3 separate regions of the Homo sapiens genome follow, and regions 2 and 3 are each linked to region 1. The links are contacts of gene promoters, found by promoter capture Hi-C in blood cells and fetal thymus (Javierre and others, 2016). All regions are on one chromosome and are shown on one strand. Each heading gives the region's core, a stretch centred on a gene start or on the middle of the fragment in contact. The rest is flanking DNA. Distances are from core to core; before and after follow the strand shown.

Evidence for each region. The method cuts DNA at HindIII sites, captures the fragments that hold promoters and counts their contacts. A CHiCAGO score of 5 or more calls a contact.
Region 2: a fragment that was not itself captured here is called in contact with the fragment with the promoter of FAM120C in region 1 in 2 of 17 cell types (total B cells and total CD4 T cells); the score reaches 6.3 in total B cells.
Region 3: a fragment that was not itself captured here is called in contact with the fragment with the promoter of FAM120C in region 1 in 1 of 17 cell types (monocytes); the score reaches 5.3 in monocytes.

The regions. Positions count from the first base shown.
Region 1 is chrX:54,181,838-54,184,593 of GRCh38, forward strand. It overlaps FAM120C (family with sequence similarity 120 member C), which reads right to left and starts at 1,417. Exons shown (of 16, transcript NM_017848.6): 1 at 663-1,417. The coding sequence starts at 1,361. RefSeq lists silencers at 910-959, 970-1,179, 1,750-1,849. The HindIII fragment of the contact is 3,156 bases long and covers 1-2,756 here.
Region 2 is chrX:54,643,843-54,646,598 of GRCh38, forward strand. It overlaps a transcript of GNL3L not described here. Among named protein-coding and RNA genes, the nearest start is that of GNL3L, 120 kb to the left of the region's middle. The HindIII fragment of the contact is 5,734 bases long and covers 1-2,756 here.
Region 3 is chrX:54,535,196-54,537,951 of GRCh38, forward strand. All of the region lies in intron 2 of GNL3L (G protein nucleolar 3 like), which reads left to right. Among named protein-coding and RNA genes, the nearest start is that of GNL3L, 6.4 kb to the left of the region's middle. The HindIII fragment of the contact is 6,851 bases long and covers 1-2,756 here.

The DNA of each region.
Region 1 (2,756 bases), core at 167-2,666:
TTTCCAAGGGCATGAGCAGTGTCTCACATGTCTTTAAAACCCTTACACTCAGTGAGTTAATACTTGCTGAACAGTGACTGAATCAGTGGGTTTTTATGTGTTTAGGCTAAGGCAGGAGGAAGAAGATGCATGTTGAAATGAAAAAGGCTGAATGGACACAGATGGGTAAAAAAGCAGCAGTGGGTGAAGACGGAAAAACAATGTAGAAGAAAGGTGTTCAGTTCACACCTGCTTAAGTGATTTACTGCGAGGTTGGAAAGAGATACAGGAGAGAGATGTCAACTGGCAAAAGCAGGGTAAAGGCATTTCAGTTTGAGGCAGAAGACACCAGGAGAAAGATGAGGCTACAAAAGAAATTCTGACTAGATTCTGCTGAAACCTAGTGGTAGGCCAATTGGATAAGGGAAGCTAAAGGGAGCTACTGGGATGACATGAGTAGAGATATGGCCATGTAGGTGAGTGAATCCGTAGGGGGTGGTATGAAGGGGGAGGTAAATGGATAAAATGGTAGAGGGTAGTTAGGCAGGTAGGTTAGCTGTTGGGCGGGTAGGTGGGTGGGTAGATGGGAGGTAGGGTAGTGGGTAAGTGGGTAGGTGGTTAGGTATTTAGTTGGGAGGGAATAGGTGTGGGGCTTATTATTTAAGATCCGGCCCCTCCCTCACCTTGACCCGGAAGCGGATGAGTGCTAGCCTCACGCAGTGGCTCAGGCAGGCCGGTGGCAGGAACCAGGCCCGCGGTGGAGGGGTGCCCTTGTTGCCCACGTGTCCCACGATCAGTTGCGCTGTCTGCCGCTCGGCCTGGCACCGACGGCCCCACTCGGCCAGCCGGTCCTTGCCCAGGCCCCCCGGGAACATGACCACGAGCTCCAGGCCGTCGCCGCCAGGATAGGCACAAGCCTGGCACAGCGCTGACAAGTAGCCCAGCATGGCGTTCCATTGGCCGCCACACACCCAATCCGTCTGGTAGCCGCCATAGAGCCGCGGCAGCGCCGAGCCGGCGTCCACCAGCACCCGGGCCCCGGGCAGCTGAGGGGGCGGCGGCGGCGGCAGCGGAGGGTGCAGCCCGGGCTGCGCTTGGCCATGATGGTGGAAGTGGTGAGCGGGGTGATGGTGCCGAGTCGGCCCCGCGCCCCCGGAGTAGGCACCCAAGGCAGCGGGCGGAAGCGGCGGTTGCAGAGGCACGGAGCCCCTGGCGGCGCGTGGAGCCCCGGGCGCTAGGGCTGCAGTCGGCGGCAGCTGGCGGTGCAAGTGCTGCTGCTGCTGCTGGCGCGAGACCGTGCGCGCGAGTTTTAGGAGGTCCACGGGCACCACGGCCCCGGGACAGCGCTTCTCCAGGAACTCTTGGAAGCCCTGGACACCCATGCTTCGTCGGTGGGCAGACGCGATAGCGGCTGCGCAAGCAGGATAGGCGACGATCTGGGCGCGAAGCTGGGGGCGGGCGCGTGCGCACTCCGCGGGGGGCGAGGGGGGGCGGGAAAAGGATTCCCGAGGGGAGGGGTGAGGAAGCGAGGGAATGAGGGCGGGGAGGGGAGGAGACCACAAATTGGATTTGGGTAGAGAGAAGGGGAGGGGCAGACCGGACCCGGGAGAGGCTGGGAGGATAAAAGCGAGGATGGGCTCTAGTCACTTCTCTTTTTTCTCCTTTCCGGCCGCTCTTCTTCCCGCTTTAGAAGGGGTGAAGCCTCTTTCTTCCACCTCCGGGAGCCATGTTGCCTCGTCTTCTCGGTGGTACACGCTTTCTAGCTGGAGGAAGGGGAGCGAGGAGGGGCGGGGCGGGGCGGGGAGAGGGGCATCTTGGTAGTTGTAGTCTTCTCTATGGCCTTAGGATATAGTCGAGGAACCAGACTACCACCCTTCTCAGCCCTTGTGCTCACAGGGTCACAGGAAGCGGGGCGTGATGATGAGTGTTTAGGAGTTGCACTCCAACTCCTTGCATCTCACTGAGTTGCTTAGGTTATTTACTGCTTTTTCCTGGAAAAAGAGTTTTGGGGGATGGATTGATGCATCATGGGAATGGAAGTTAGAGTGGATTGACTGAATTCAGCTAAAGTGAGCTAAAACTCCCCAGGAGGGAGGATTTTCCCCTTAGTGGAAAGATAATATTTAAAGAGCTGTTGGTCCCAATTAAGAAAGACGTAACTGGTCGGGCGCGGTGGCTCACGCCTGTAATCCCTCCGAGGCGGGCAGATCACGAGGTTAGGAGATCGAGACCATCCTGGCCAACATGGTGAAACCCCGTCTCTACTAAAAATACAAAAAGTAGCCGGGCGTGGTGGCACGTGCCTGTAATCCCAGCTACTGGGGAAGCTGAGGCAGGAGAATCGCTTGAACCTGGGAGGCGGAGGTTGCAGTGAGCCAAAATCATGTCACCGTACTCCAGCCTGGTGACAGAGCCAGACTCCGTCTCAAAAATAAATAAATAAATAAAAAGAAACTTACATTATTTACTTGCCTAAGGCAATGCAGAGACAAAGTTAAATCGAATATCCTTGCCCTCAGCATCTCTTTGGGCAGGGAGATAATTACCAACACAAATTACATTACAAATTGTACCTTTTTGGTACTCCTAGATCCACTATGTCCTATGGTTAGGGCCTTTGGTTTCCAAACTTCATTGTGTTTTAGTCTGTCGGGAGCTTTTCTAAATAGCTGCAAGGGCTCTAATTTCAGATGTATGGAGTCATAATCTTTTGAAAAATGTATTTTCAACATACTGAGATGAAACAGATGCAGTGCCTGTCTTCTTTCTGGCTTTTA
Region 2 (2,756 bases), core at 111-2,610, 460 kb after region 1:
TAACTCCCACGTATGAGTGAGAACATGTGATATTTGTTTTTCTGTGCCTGGCTTATTTCACTTAACATAATGTCATGCATGTTGTTATAAATGACAGGATTTCACTCTTTTTGTATGGCTGAATAATATTCAATTATGTATATATACCACATTTTCTTTATCAATTCATCCGTTGATGGACACTTAGGTTGATTCTGTGTCTTGACTATATTGAATAGTGCTACAATAAACATGGGAGTGCAGATATCTCTCCAATATACTGATTTCCTTTCTTTTGGATGTATACCTAGCACTGGGATTGCTGGATAATATGGCAGTTCTAGTTTTAGTTTTTTGAGGAATCTCCAAACTGTTTTCCATAGTGGCTGTACTACTTTCCATTCCCACTAACAGTGTACAAACATTCTCCTTTCTCAGCATCCTTGCCAGCATCCGTTATTTTTTGTCCTTTTGAGAAAAGCCATTTTAACTGCAGTGATTACAAATACTTTACCCACTCCAAAATTATGTATTAAAAATGATTCATCCATGTTGTCTGCTAGTACTTTTATGGTTTCAGTTTTACAGTTAAATCTTTGATCTATCTGGAATTTATTTTGGGGTAGGATTTAGGACAGGGATCTAGCTTCTTTTCCTTTCAAATGCTAAGTCTACTGTCTCTGTACCATCTATTGACTAATAATTATTGACTCATTGAATTGGAATGTCACCTTTATCAAATATGGAGTTTTCATATGTGCTTTTGTTTATTTCTGCACTATTTTATTCTATTGATCTGAATGTCTGTGCCTGCACCAGTGCCACCCCATTGTAATTAATGTAACTTCAAAATATATATCTTCATATCTGGTTGGGCAAAGCCTCTTTTGCTTCTTTTTCAGAAAATTTCTGCCTGTTTTCACATACTTATTCTTCCAGGTGAATCTTAGCACACATTGTGAAAGTAAAAATAATATAAAATTGCCTATTGACATTTTGACCGGGATTATATTGAATTTATAGGTTAATTTAGAGAAAATCATTGTCTTTTATAATATCGAATCTTCCTATTGGAGAGTAAGGTATGGATTTCTAGTTATTCAATTTTTTATGTTAGTAGAATTTTAAAGTTTTATTTTTATATGTTTTATGTGTTCCTTGTTAGGTTTATTCCTATTTTAGTTGCTATTGTGAAGGGGATATTTTTCCCTTATCTTTTTGAACTGGTTGTGGGAAAGCAATTACCAGTACGTCACTAAATCCTATTATTGTTTTTAATAGGTTTTCCATAAATTTCCTCAGGCTTTCAAGTTACACAGCTATGTCATCAACAAATAGAGATTATTTTGCTCCTATAATAGCTATCCCAAGTTTGTGCCTCATTTAATTATCTTGTCTAATTGTGTTATGTATTGCCTTCAGAATAGTAATAGTGGTGATAATGGGGCTTGCACCTTTTCTCTGACTTTAATGGAGAGTCTCACATTTCATTATTCAGCATGATACTGGTTTTCGGTTAGAAATATAGAGTATAAAAAGTATGTCAAGAAAGTATCCATTCCTAGATAACTAAATCAGAAATACATCTTGAATTTTGTTAAATTCATCTTTTGGGCATCCATTGAGATGACCGTGTGGGTTTTTTCATTTGACCTATTAGTACAATGAATTATGTGTATTTCCTAATATTGAATAACTCTTGCACTCTTAGAATGGACCCCACAGTTTTTACTTCTTCAATTTACTGCTGAATTCCATTTGTTAATATTTTATTTATTTTACATCAATATGTATAAGTGAGATTTGTCTGTGGCTTTCTTACATGTGAACTTTGTTCGGAGTCCATGCATTTCCCAAACTGTTTTTTGTAGTCCCTGACCATTCAAGGACTGAAGATGTGCCTATATTAAGGGAGGACTCCACTGAATGCCAGCCATCCATCCCTTCCATGTTTCTTTGCTGCATATTATCGTTTCTGAGACATTTTATATGCTCCTTGGATATCTATGGGAATAAACATCATTAATTGTAAATGTGGAGATGCTAGCACAGATTGTTTAATCCAAGTAGACTATTTAAACAAACTGCAGTGGAATTTACTGAGAAATGATAAATGATGGCTATTCTATTATTTTATGTTTGTTCTTTAAAAAATCAATATTGTTTATAAAGGTAATTATTACTTTGTATTAAGTGATTAATACAGTATTAAAGGCTCTTAATAAAAAAAGTCAGCCTCCATCCTATCATTCCACATACCCTATTCTTCTTTCCATGTCAACAAATGCAGTTCTAGCTGTTTCCCCTCATATTATGTCCATATTTCTATATAATGTGCATATATTGCTATTTATTTATTTTAAAATAATAGACTTCATATTTTAGAGCAGTTTAAGGTTTATAGAAAAAATGAATGGTGGCTGGGCATGGTGGTTCACGCCTGTAATCTTGGCACTTTGGGAGGCCGAGGCAGGCGGGTCACTTGAGGTCAGGAGTTCGAGACCAGCCTGGCCAACATGGAGAAACCCCATCTCTACTAAAAATACAAAAATTAGCCAGGCATGGTGGCACGCGCCTGTAGTCCCAGCTACTCGGGAGGCTGAGACAGGAGAATCGCTTGAACCCGGGAGGGGGAAGTTGCAGTGAGCTGAGATCACTGCACTCCAGCCTGGGCGACAGAGCGAGACTCCATCTCAAAAAAAAAGAATGGAAAGTACAGAGAGTTCCTATATGACCCCTCTCCCCACTCCTCCCTGCCCACCAATTTCCCCTTTGAT
Region 3 (2,756 bases), core at 87-2,586, 350 kb after region 1:
GCAACCTCCGCCTCCTGGGTTCAAGCGATTCTCTTGCCTCAGCCTCCCGAGTAGTTGGGATTACAGGTGCCTGCCACCATGCCCAGCTAATTTTTGTATTTTTAGTGGAGACAGGGTTTCACCATGTTGGCCAGGCTGGTCTCGAACTCCTGACCTAGTGATCCGCCCACCTCAGCCTCCCAAAGTGCTGGGATTACAGGTGTGAGCCACCGTGCACGGCTCTCTACCATCTTATTTTATATTTATTATTTATTTTGTTTCCTCTTATTCCCTTATTTATGTTTTGCTAACTTGATGAAGTTTTTAAACAATCCTCCATCGGTAATTAAGTTATGTTGGTAATTGTATTCATATTTATATCAAACATAATTAATTCTGTATTTATCACTTTACCAAAGTTAAATAATGACTATTTTGTAACCTACCCTTTCAAAATGAAACCTTTAGCATGCTTTCATGCTTTTGCTTTTCCAACCCCCATTACTTGATTCCTGGATTTTATTGAAATAATTTGGTATTTCAGTTCTGAGCTATTTCCTTATGATATGCTTCTTCGATTTTAAGAATCCTTTTTTTGTTGTTTTTTTGAGACAGGGTCTCACTCTGTCGGCCAGGCTAGAGTGCAGGTGTGATCATGGCTCACCACAACCTCCGCCTCCTGGGCTCAAGTGATCTTCCTGCCTCAGCCTCCTGAGTAGCTGGGACAACAAACATGTGCCATCACACCTGGCTAATTTTTTTTTTTTTTTGAGACAAGAGTCTTGCTGTGTTGCCCAGGCTGGAGTGCAGTGGTGCGATCTTGGCTCACTGCAACCTCCACCTCCTGGGTTCAAGCAATTTTCCTGCCTCAGCCTCTCGAGTAGCTGGGATTACAGGTGCGTGCCAACACGCCCGGCTAATTTTTGTATTTTTAGTAGAGACGGGGTTTCACCATGTTGGGCAGGCTGGTCTCAAACTCCTGACCTCAAGTCAGGCATCCGGCTAATTTTTGTATTTTTAGTAGAGACGGGGTTTCACCATGTTGGGCAGGCTGGTCTCAAACTCCTAATTTTTGTATTTTTAGTAGAGATGGGGTTTCACCATGTTGGCCAGGCTGGTCTTGAACTTCTGACCTCAAGTGATCCACCCGCCTTGGCCTCCCAAAGTGCAGGGATTATAGCTGTGAGCCATCGCTCCTGGCCTCAGTGATAAGTTTTAGTAGATTTCCGTAGATTTCCTGCCCACCACTGTTTGTTTCCTTTAGCTTGGGATCTTTATTCTGATTTAATTTTTATTTTGCCAGTAGTTTTATCCAAAAGGAAACACAGGGCCAGGCGTGGTGGCTCATGCCTGTAATCCCAGCACTTTGGGAGGCCAAGGCGAGCCAATGACTTGAGGCCAGGAGTTTGAGACCAGCCTGGCCAACATGGCGAAACCCCGTCTCTACTAAAAATAAAAAAATTAGCCAGGCACAGTGGTGCACGCCTGTAATCCCAGCTACTCCAGAGGCTGAGGCAGGAGATTTCCTTGAACCTGGGAGGTGGAGGTTGTAGTGAGCTCAGGTGGCACCACTGCACTCCAGCCTGGGCAACAGAGCGAGACTTTGTCTCAAAAAAAAAAAAAAACAGAGAGAGAGAGGGAGGGAGGGAGGGAGAGACGAAAGAAAGGAAGGAAGGAAAGGAAAGAAAGGAAAGAAAGAAAGGCAAGTGGTAATCTTTGCTCACCTGAAAATGTCTTTTTCTTACTTTCACAAAGTAAGAGTGATCTGTTGGTTAGAATTTTATCTCTTTATCTTTAGAGTTCAGAAATTTCATCAGGATATGTCCAGGGTATGTCTTTTTGGTTGTTAATCTTTTTTTTTTTTTTTTTTGAGACAGGGTCTCTGTTGTCCAGGCTGGAGTGCAATGGTGCCATCATAGCTCATTATAACTTTGAATTCCTGGGATCAACCAGTCCTCCCGCCTCAGCTTCCTGAGAGCTAGGACTACAGGTGCATGCCGCCACACCTGGTTAATTAAACTTTTTTTTTTATATAGACAAGGTCTCACTATGTTGCCTGGATTAGTCGCAAACTCCTAGTGTCAAGCGATCCTCCCACCTCAGCCTCCCAAAATGCTGGGATGACAGGGTGAGCCATGGCACCCGGCCTTGGTTGTTAATCTTGCTGCTGCCTGTGTCTTTCCAGTCTGAAACCTCAAGCCTATGTTCAACTTAAGGAACTTTCGTCTGTTATTCAGAAAATTATTGCTTCTCCATTTGTACCCTTTTCTCTTTCAGGAACTCCTGTTTAGATTTTAGCTGTCTTGGCTCTATTGTCCATTTTTTCTTTTATATTTTTGCTCATCATTTCAATTTCTTTGAATTTTTGCTCTAAGTAAGCCCCTCCTTTGGTCTTCTAGCTTATTAATTTGGTTGTTAGTGATGTCTTTTTTGTTTTTCACTATTTCTATTGAATTTTTTTAAGAGACAGAGTCTCACTATGTTGCCTAGGCTGTTCTCGAACTCCTAGGGTCAAGTGATCCTCTTGCCTCAGCCTCCCAGCTAGCAACAGGCAGGTGCTACTGTGCCCAGCTTAAGTTTTGACTGTTAAAGCAGTCTGTGTTTGTGTATTTTTTTAAGAGATGGGGTCTTGCTTTGTTGCCCAGGCTGGATTAGAACTCCTGGGCTCAAGGGATCCTCCTACCTTAACCTCTCATGTAGCTGGGGCTACAAGCATGCACCACGGCACCCAGCTTTTGAATTTTTATTCAGTGTCAAGTTTTGGAAAATCTTTTTTT